Regions from separate parts of the Homo sapiens genome. Here region 2 is linked to region 1. The links are contacts of gene promoters, found by promoter capture Hi-C in human tissues and cell types (Jung and others, 2019). All regions are on one chromosome and are shown on one strand. The core of a region is centred on a gene start or on the middle of the fragment in contact, and the rest is flanking DNA. Distances in the headings are between cores, read along the strand shown.

Region 1 (5,411 bases), core at 1,648-4,147:
TTTTATATTTTCATACTGCATTTCCCACTTTTAGAAGTTACATTCAATTATTTTTAAAAATCTAGTAATTTTAGGCCATGTGCGGTGGCTCACGCCTGTAATCCCAGAACTTTGGGAGGCCGAGGCAGGTGGATCAGGAGGTCAGGAGATCGAGACCATCCTGACCAACGGTGAAACCCCGTCTCTACTAAAAATACAAAAAAACTAGCTGGGCTTGGTGGCAGGTGCCTGTAGTCCCAGCTACTCAGGAGGCTGAGGCAGGAGAATGCTGTGAACCTGGGAGGCGGAGCTTGCAGTGAGCCGAGGTTGCGCCACTGCACTCCAGCCTGGGCAACAAGCAAGACTCCGTCTCAAAAAAAAAAAAAAATCTAGTAATTTTAGGTTGAATAATCTTATGGTTTCTAGCCTTTATTAACTGTAATAATTCAAAATATATAGTTTCATATTATGTTTATAGTATTTGTTGAATTAATTAGCATAATAGCCTAGTTTGTTTTAAAAATACTGTTAATTCATTACAGTATTTTAAAAATAAACTAGGCTATTATGCTAATTGTGTATTTAACTCCCTTTAACTCCTTAACTCCCATTAACTCCCTAAGCAACTGACGGTCAACAATTATCCCTTGCACTATTTTTTTGTTGGTGGTGGTGCTTTGTTTTGGTTTTGGTAACCACAAAATCAAAAAGGAACTTTTTGATGACCAGCTATTCCAAGTTTCTCATTTACAAATGAGAAAATAATGAGCCTGATTAGTGCACAAAAGCATAAATACACATAGCATTTGTATCTGACACTGTTCTAGGCAAGAAGAATACAGACATTAACAAAATAGACAATTTTTTCCTCATGAATTTGACAGTTGAAAATGGGCATTTTTTTTTACTTATTGCAAATAACTATCTTATAACAATCAAGTTATTCTTGTTTGAAATACTTCTCTCCAAATAGATTCTCTGCTTATTTTCTACTATTATTAACATCTCCATAATAATTTTACATTAAAAATGTTTCATAAAATATTGTTAAAAGCCTCACTGCTTTTTTCTATTTAAATGATTTGTTTTAGTAATAGATATATAGATATGCATTCCTTTAAAAATGATTTAAATAACATCTTAAGCTATAATGTCTGTATTAGGATGACAAATGGATATATGCTAAGGAAATGTTTGCATTTAAATTACCAGAACATCTGCTACCAAACCAAAAAAAAAAAATTGATGTCTCAAGAAACCACATTCCACTTCAGAAATGGATTCTAGAACTTAGTGAAAATGATAAGAAGATTTTAAATTCAAATTTTAAAAAGAGAGTAATAATTCTGAACTAAAATAATCTAAAATAGCATGAAAGAAAGAGTTCTAATCATTAACATATTCGCAATCAGGGCTAAAAAAATCATTAATATAACACATCATTAATTCAAGTGATCATCATCCCATATAAGCAAGCCAAGGCTTACTTAGCAACAATGACAAAAAATTCCTCCAAATACAGCCTGAACGGTGAGTGAGAACAGAATCTCTAGAACAATCAAGCCAATGATTATTCAAAGACATCCAAGAGGAAGACAGATTCAGAAAATGGACTTGGGGCTTTGATAACCAGCATCACTGCACCATTATTTCTGTGAAACATTGTTGATCCTGGTTCATTTTCAAAAGGGCTTTTCCATTCAGGGAAAATTTGGTATAAATATAAAATTCAACAGGTGTGCATGAATGAAAAATGGCAGATTAACTTCTTAGAAACAAAATCTTTACATCATTTTAAATTTGTAAATACTGTTAGTGATTCATTACCTGCGATTCAATTCCTTCCTTTATTATTGACCGTATTTTCTCCGGAACTGTAATTTGCACAGGTAAACTATCAAAATCTGCAAAATGTGCAAAATGTTTTATTAGAACAATGCCCATCATTTCAGAGCGTGTTTTATGAGTTTTTCATCTAAATCTCTAATCTCTATTCTATACGCTGCTTCTCATTTTTATTATCTTCCCATTTCTTTCTAAAAATACAAGGAGGTTTTTTTTTCTGTTTTTCTGTTTTTTTTTTTGTTTTTGAGACGAAGTCTCACTCTGTCGCCCAGGCCCAGGCTGGAGTGCAGTGGTGAGATCTCTGCTCACTGCAACCTCCGCCTCCCGGTTTCAAGCGATTCCCCTGCCTCAGCCTCCCCAGCAGCTGGGACTACAGGCACGCACTACCACCCCCAGCTAATTTTCTATATTTTTAGTAGAGGGGGATTTCACCATGTTGGCCGGGATGGTCTCGATCTCCTGACCTCGTGATACGCCTTCCTCAGCCTCCCAAAGTGCTGGGATTACAGGCATGAGCCACCGTGCCCGGCCATATTTTTTTAAAAAAGAAGTAGGTGTATTGCTTTAGGAGTATTGCCCTGTAGGTAGGATCTGGTAACCTTGGGTCAATAGGTTCAAGCCCCTCAGGACAAATTAACTCACTCTGGACTCTTCAACTAGAGAGTACAGAAGTTGGGTCTCAACTTTCACTGTCGTGAAAAATGCAAAGCAGGATCTGAAACTACAATTTTGAAGCAACCTCTTAAGGCCTAGGACCTCCTATCTTATCTTTCCTAGGTTTCCAGGACGTGTGGGAAAGCCCTTATTCTACGTGGATTTTGGGTGGGGAAGGCGGCAATGTCGGGGATGAGCTTGGAATTGCTGAGTTGGAAACCCCTCAGGAAAGCATCCTCCCAGGGATGTCAATGTAACTTGGAGGCAAAGGGAGAGTAGCGCTGAGGGTCCCAAAAGGCCAGAGGAGGGGTTTTTCTGCTTACTACTGTCCATCCGCAGCCCGCCGAGCCCGCTGAGCAGAAACAAGACGCGCCACATGGCTTGAAGTCCTGGGTCCCAGCCGGAATAATGGCAGTTGGTGGTTACAGGGCAGTTGGAAGCGCGAGATGACGCCCCGGCCACGCAGCCTGGAAGAGGTAGGCGGCTGGGAGAGCCCAGGTGGGCTGAGGTTGGGTGTGGTGCGCTGTGGAACGTGCGAGCTCCTGAGCCCTGTCTCTTGCAGGACAAGCACTCCACTGGACGTGATGCCTAATTAAGGCAACAGCAACAACAAAATCACTTCCAACAGCTGAGGAACAGGAAGATTTATAAACACTTCTTAAGTAAAATTTCAATTGAATATATATAAACACGTATCAGGAGTTCGAGACCAGTTTCCGCAACATGGTGAAACCCCGTCTGTACTAAAAATACAAAAAAAAATTAGCCAGGCATGGTGGCGGGTGCCTGAAATCCCAGCTACTCGGGAAGCTGAGGCAGGAGAATCGCTTGAACCTAGGAGGCAGAGGTTGCAGTGAGCAGAAAGACCTTACCACTGCACTCCAGCCTGGGTGAGAGAGCGAAATTCCGTCAAAAAAAAAAAAAAAAAAAAAAAAAAGAACGAAACAAAAAACGAAAAAAAGTATATAATAAATCATAAGTTCACAGGTCAATTAATATTCAAGTGGAAAAAAAAAACAGCGTAACTAGTACCACGATGAAGAAATGAAAAAGAACCACCCAAATCCCCAGATTCCAACCTCACAACCATGACTTCTAAACAACCAAAGATTCGTTTTGTCTGTTTTTGAACTTTTCGCAAGTAGAAGCAATCACCATCTACTCTTTCATGTCTGGGTTCTTTTAATAGGATGATTGTAAGGTTCATACAAAGCAATAGTTCTGTTTTATCCTCATTGGTGTATATTACAAATTCATTAAATATAACACCACTTGTGTTTCCATTTTACTGTTAATGAATATTTTGTTTGTTTATTGTTCCAGCTATTAAAAATAATATTTAGCTATAAACATTCTTCTACATGCCTTTTGGTGTAATAAGTAAGGATTTCTACTGTGTATATTTCTAGAGTGAAGTTGTCGGATCACAGGGTATGTGTTGGTAGATACTTCCGACAAGTTTTCCAAGACTGTACTAATTTATACTCTCACCAGAAGTATATGAAAATTCCACTTCGTACACATCAATGCCTTGTTGTGTTGTTGTGTTGTCTGTAATGTTCCTTCATTGTAATGAACTTACCAACTTTTATATCAAGACATGCTGCCCTCATAAAAGAAATTAAGAAATGTTATCTCTTCGTTTAATCTTTGAAATAGTGTAATGCTGTGAATATTTATTCTTTTAATGTTTCTTAGCATTTAGAAATGGAGTGATTATGACCTGGAGTTTTCTTCATGAGAAGATTTATTTACTTTTTTATCTAATTTCTTTAAAATATTCATATTTTTTTCTTTTCGTGTTGGTTTGAGAAAGTTATGTTTCTGAAGGAATTTGTCCATTTCTTTGGGGTTGTTAAATTATTGACAAAAGTTGTTCATAATGACTTCCTCTCCTCTAGCAACTTTTTAAGGTCTATAGCACCTGCAGACATATCTCTTCTTCCATTCTCAATGTTGATAATTTGTGATGTTTCTCTTTATACTGGGTAAATAGGTCTTGGAATGTATAATTTTTATTAAGTTTTACAGGAACTCGGTTTTGGATTTCTTTATTTTTTTCTGTTGTATGTTTTCTGCTTTGTTGATTTTGTTCTTGGGTTCTTTTCCTTTTTTCTACTTTGGGCATAATGTTCCTTTTCTAGCTTCTAAGATTGGAAGTTTATATTATTTATTTTAAACATTTCTTCTTTTAACCTATGCCTTTAAACTACAAATTTCCATGTATTTCCAAATTTCTATCTATTCATTGCTTTAACTTCACCATTGTATTCTTATACTTTATTTTGATATACTTTACTTTCATTAATATTCAATTCTAAATGTTTTCTAATTTTCATCATGATTTCTTTTTGCCCCACATGTTTATTGGTGTTATTTAAATGCCACATATTTAAGCATGTATTAATTACTTTTTTATTGATGTCTAACTCAATTCCATTGTGATCATAGATTGTATTTTGAATAATTTCAAGTCATTGCAATTCACTAAGAGAAAATTCATTGCCCATTATATGGTTCATTACATTGAATGTTTCGAACTTTAAAAGAATGCAAACTTTAAAAGAATGCAGACTATTTAGCTGTGGATTATATTATTCTTTAAATGTCAACTAGATCAAGTTGGATAATACATTTTCAAATATTTTATATCCTTATTAATTCTTGTTCTTTTATTATGTCCAACTAAGAATACTTTTCTATTTTTCCTTTGTGTTTTATCAATTTTTAATTATCATATTTTGAAGATAAGTTATTTTTTTAAAACTCATTTAGGGAGGTTTTGTCTTCCTGATGAAGTGAACTTATGTCATTATAATGTCACTCTTTGCCCATACTGGCTTTTTGCCATTAAGCTTATTTTATCTATCACTTCCATAGCCAGATTTTTAAAAAAATAATTAGAATCTGCTTGGGATATTTTAAAAAAATAT
Region 2 (5,411 bases), core at 838-3,337, 720 kb before region 1:
TAACTAAAGCCTGTTTCTCAATCTCCACCCCTACACCTAGCAATTCTCAGACGAGAAGAAACATTTCATTCTACTATTTTTATTAGAAAGGGAAATACTTTATTTTGTTCATTGATTTATTTAGCAACTATTTCTCTAGACTTGCCATGTGCATACCTATATGCCAGGTGTCTTAGGAGATTTAAAAAAAAGAAATATAATTAAGCAAGCTTTGCTTATAAGTGACCAATCTTTTGGTAACATTCTATTTTTAGCAGTTTTGTTGAGGTGCAATTTACAACACCATAGAGTTCACCCATTTTAAGGGTACAACTCAACAATTATTACAGCAGTACATAAATAGAATTGTGCAAACATTACCACAGTCCAGTTGTAGAATGTTGCTATCAATCCTAAAAAGATCCCTTATGCACATTTGTAGTTCTTCTCCAGCCCTTGGCAACCGCTGATCTGTTGTCTATCTCTATGTATTTGCCTCTTTAGGGGCATTTTATATAAATGGCAGCATGCAATATGTAAGCTTTTGTATTAGACTTTTTTCACTTAGGATTATCCATTTTGTAGCATTTATCAGGTTATTAATTTTTATATCTTATATGTGGATATACCACATTTTGCTTATCCATTCTCATTCTCCAGTTGATGGACTTTGGATTGTTTTCTGATATTGAGTATTATGAATAATTCTTTTATGAACATTCATGTATGGACATATATTTTCCCTTGGGTAGATTCTTAGGAGTGAAATTGCTGGGCACATGATAAGTTTGTGTTTAACATTTTTAGAAACTGCTACACTGTTTTCCATAGTGACTGTACCAATTTACATGTCACATCAGCAATTTTTGAGTGTTCCAGTTTTTTCACATACTTGTGAACATTTGATGTTTTCTGTCTTTCAGATTAAAGCTATTGTAGTGGGAGTGTAGTGGTATGTAATTGTGGCTTCAATTTGCATTTCTTTAATGAATAATTATGCTGAGTATTTTTCATGAGCCTAATAGCCATTTATATGCCTTTTCTGTGGAATGTCTACTCAAATTATTCTCCTGTTTTAAAATTTAGTTGTTTATTTATTTTTGAGTTCTATGAATTCATTATATATTCTGGACACAACTTCTCTATTTGGAATTATTTTCTCCCAATTTCTGGCTTGCTTTTTCATTTTTCTCAGTGGTGTTTTCTCAAACACAAACATTTTCAATTTTGATGACATTCAGTTTATCAAATTTTCTTTTTATGGATCTTGTTTTTGGTTTTGTATCTAAGAACTCTGTTATGGACTGAACTGTGGCCCCTCAAAATTCATATGTTGAATCCCTAACCCCTAATGTGACTATATTTGGAGATAGGGCCTTATGGAGGTAATTAAGGTTACATGAGGTCAAGGGCCTTATGGAGGTAATTAAGGTTATATGCTGTCACAAGGGTAGGGCTTTAATTAATCTAATAGGACTGATGTACTTATAAGAAGAGGAAATATACTAGGGGTTCATGCATACAAACTGAAGGTCATGAAAGGATACAACAAGAAGGCAGCTGTCTGCAAGCCAAGAGGAGAGGCCTCACCAGAAATCAGCCCTGTTGGCACCTTGATCTTGGACTTCCAGCCTCCAGAACTGTGAGAAAATACATTTTTGTTGGTTAAGCCACCTTGTCTGTGGCATTTTGTTTGGGTAGCTTGAGCAGAGTAATCCGATTTTGGTATTGTGAAGTGGGGTGCTGCTGTAACAAATACCTAAAAATGTTGAAGTGGATTTGGAACTGAGTGAAGGGTAGAGGCTAGAAGACTGGTGAAGTACATGCTAAGAAGAAGCCTAGATTGCCTTGAAGGGACTGTTGGTAGAAATATGGATGCTAAAGGTAATTCTAATGAAGGATCAGAAAGAAAAGACTTATAGAGAAAGCTTTTATCGTCTTAGGGAATATACATATCATTATGAACAGAATAGAACTGGTAGAAATATGAACATTAAAGGTGTTCCTGGGCCGGGCACGGTGGCTCACACCTGTAATCCTAGCACTTTGGGAGGCTGACGTGGGCAGATTACCTGAGGTCAGGAGTTCAAGACCAACCTGGGTAACATGGTGAAACCCTGTCTCTACTAAAAATACAAAAATTAGCTGGACGTGGTGGCAGGCACCTGTAGTCCCAGCTACTCGGGAGACTGAGGCAGGAGAATTGCTTGAACCCAGGAGGCAGAGGTTGCAGTGAGCCGAGATTGGGCCACTGCACATTAGCCTGGGTGACAGAGCAAGACTCCGTCTCAAAAAAAAAAAAAAAAAAAGTGTTTCTAGTGAGGTCACAGATAGAAATGAGAAATGTTATTGGAGACTGGAGGAAAGGAGATCCTTGTTAAAAAGTGGCAAAGAACTTGGCTGAATTGTGTTCTAGTCTTTTGTAGAAGGTAGAAATTGTGGGGGAAAACCTTGGGTATTTAGCTGGGGAGATTTCTAAGCAAAATGCTGAAGATGTGGCTTGTTTTGTCATCACTGCTTATAGAAAATGCAAAATGCAAGAGAAGAGAGGTAAATGGAAGGAATTATTTAGCAAAAAGGAACAAGAACTTGAAGATTTGAGAAATTTTCAGCCTACTTTGTATTTTTTAAAATGAGAAATGATGTTTTAGAAAGAACACCAAAGGTGTAGCTGGACAATCAGACAATAAAAAGATTCCTCATGATTTAATCCGCCATGTCAAGTGAAGCCAGGATCAGAGACGGGATTACATCAGCAGAAACACTGCCAGCTGGAACTAAAGGGAACAGAGAAAATTGGATAGAATGAAGGAAGGCTGTTTAACTTCTGGGATTCTACAGGATAGGACGATAGAGTTGTCTGGCTTCAAACATGCATCATTCTTCACAAACACCGCATGTTCTCACTCATAAGTAGGAGTCGAGCAATGAGAACACATGGACACAGGGAGGGGAACATCACACACTGGGGCCAGTCGGGGGGTGGAGGGCTAGGGGAGGGAGAGCATTAGGAGAAATATCTAATGTAGATGACGGGTTGATGGGTGCAGCAAACCACCATGGCACGTGCATACCTATGTAACAAACCTGCATGTTCTGCACATGTACTCCAGAACTTGAAGTATAATAAAAAAAGAAAAAGAGAAGAATGACCCTGAAAGCAATTCAGAGATCATCAGGGCTGCCACTCCTGCTACAGGCCCAGGAGGCAAGGCTGCATTCTCTTTGGTTTCAGAGAGTGGGGCCACCTCCTTGGTTTCAGTAGTCTAGGATGTCACTGTTTATTACCCCAGGAACAAGGCTGTCACCCAGAGCTGTGGGGGCAGAGCCGCTTTACAGAGCTGAGGGGATGGGGCCAGTCCCTAGGGCCATGGGAGAGTTGCTGTCCAAGTGGGCCCAGCAGGGTAGAGCATCCTGTCAAAGAAGAGTATTCTTGAACCTTAAGATCTAACGGAATTTGTCTTGCTAGGTTTTGGACTTTGTTGGGATTGTCACCCCTTTCTTTTTTTCTGGTTTCTCCTTGTTGGCATGGGAATAGCTATTCTATGCCTGTTCTACTATTGTATTTTGGAAGCACATAACTTGTCTGGTTTCACAGGTTCACAACTGGAGAGGAATTTTGCCTCAGGATGAGTCATAACTTGTATCTCAACCATACCTGATTTAAGTGACATTTAGATGAAATTTTGAACTTGGAATTGATGCTAGAATGAGTTAAGGCTTTGGGGCTTTTCCATGCAAGAAGGAAATGAATTTGGGGGGCGCACCATAGGGAAGAATGTTATGAATTGAATTGTGTCCCCCGCCAAATCCATATGTTGAAAACCAAACTCCCAGTATGGAGATAGGACCTTTAAGGAGATAGAGTTAAATGTGATCATAGAGGTGTGACCTTAATCTGATTGGACTGGTGTCCTTATAAGAAGAGGAAGAGATACAAGAGGTCCTTGTCTGTCTCCATGCATACACAGAAAAAAGGCCATGTGAGAACATAGTGAGAAAAGAGCTACCTACACGCCGTAAAGAGAGGCCTCACCAGAAACCAACCTGCTAGCATATTTATCTTGGATTTCTAACATCCAGAACTGTGAGAAAATAACATTTCTGTTTTTGTTTTTGTTTTGAGACAGAGTCTTCCTCTGTTGTCTAGGCTGGAGTGCAGTGGTGCTATCTTGGCTCACTGCAACCTCTGACTCCCAGGTTCAAGCAATTCTCATGCATCAGCCTCCCAAGTAGCTGGAATTACAGGCATGTGCCACCACGCTTGGCTATTTTTTGGTAGAGATGGGGTTTTGCCATGTTGGCCAGGCTAGTCTTGAACTCCTGACCTCAAGTGGTCTGCCTACCTTGGCCTCCCAAAGTGTTGGGATTACAGGCATGAGCCACCACACCTGGTCCTAAAATTTCTGTTGTTAATGTCACCATGCCTGTAATATTTTATTATGGCAGCCTAAGCAGACTAATGTAAGGTCTTTACCTAACCCAAGCTCACAAAGATTTTCTTCTGTGTTTTCTACTAGCTCATAGTCTATGAGCCAATTTGAGTAAACTTTTGTATATGGTGTGAGGTCAGGATATAAGTTCAGTTTTTTTTGCCTGTGGATCCAACTTTCCCAGCACTGTTTGTAGAAAAGACTATACTTTCCCCACTGAATTGTTTTGATACCTTTGTAGATCAAGTAAATAAAAATGTAAAGGTTTATTTCTGGACTTTCATGTCTTTGCCATTTATCTAGCTGGCTTTCTTTGCACCAAGATCTCATTGCTTTGATTATTGTGCATTTTAGGGCAAGATTTGGAATTGGGTAGTGTAAATCCTTCATTATTCATCTTTTCCAAAATTGCTTTGACTATTCTAAGTCCTTTTTATTTCCATATATATTTTTAGAACAACTAAAAATACCTCTATGATCACATTTAACTCTATCTCCTTAAAGGTCCTGTCTCCACACTGGGGGTTTGGTTTTCAACATATGGATTTGGTCGGGGGGCACAATTCAATCCATAACATTCTTCCTTGTGGTTCCCTCCAAATTCATTTCCCATATTGCATGCTCATTTTTACAAGAAAAACTGCTTGGATTTTGATAGAGATTACATTTAATATGTATCGATTAATTTGGGAGAATTGCTCTTTTTACAATATTGAGTGCTCTGATCTATGAACATGTATGATACTTTCATTTATTTAGAGCTTTAATTTCTGTCATTAAAGTTTGGTAATTTTCTTTCCTTTTTTTTTTTTTTTTGTTTGAGTTGGAGTCTCACTCTGTCTCCCAGGCTAGAGTGCAGTGGCGCGATCTTGGCTCACTGCAACCTCTGCCTCCTGCGTTCAAGTGATTCTCCTACCTCAGCCTCCCAGGTAGCTGGGATTACAGGCACACGCCATGACACCCAGCTAATTTTTGTATTTTTAGTAGAGACGGGGTTTC

The links. Contacts are between HindIII fragments. The study calls those that stand out against the background at their distance.
Region 2: a contact is called between a fragment that was not itself captured here and the fragment with the promoter of ADAM2 in region 1, in 1 of the 25 tissues and cell types used here (H1 embryonic stem cells).

The regions. Positions count from the first base shown.
Region 1 is chr8:39,835,330-39,840,740 of GRCh38, forward strand. ADAM2 (ADAM metallopeptidase domain 2) reads right to left here and starts at 2,898. Exons shown (of 21, transcript NM_001464.5): 1 at 2,802-2,898; 2 at 1,807-1,883. The coding sequence starts at 2,856. The HindIII fragment of the contact is 9,732 bases long and covers 1-5,411 here.
Region 2 is chr8:39,118,493-39,123,903 of GRCh38, forward strand. All of the region lies in intron 2 of ADAM32 (ADAM metallopeptidase domain 32), which reads left to right. Among named protein-coding and RNA genes, the nearest start is that of ADAM32, 13 kb to the left of the region's middle. The HindIII fragment of the contact is 4,905 bases long and covers 1-4,540 here.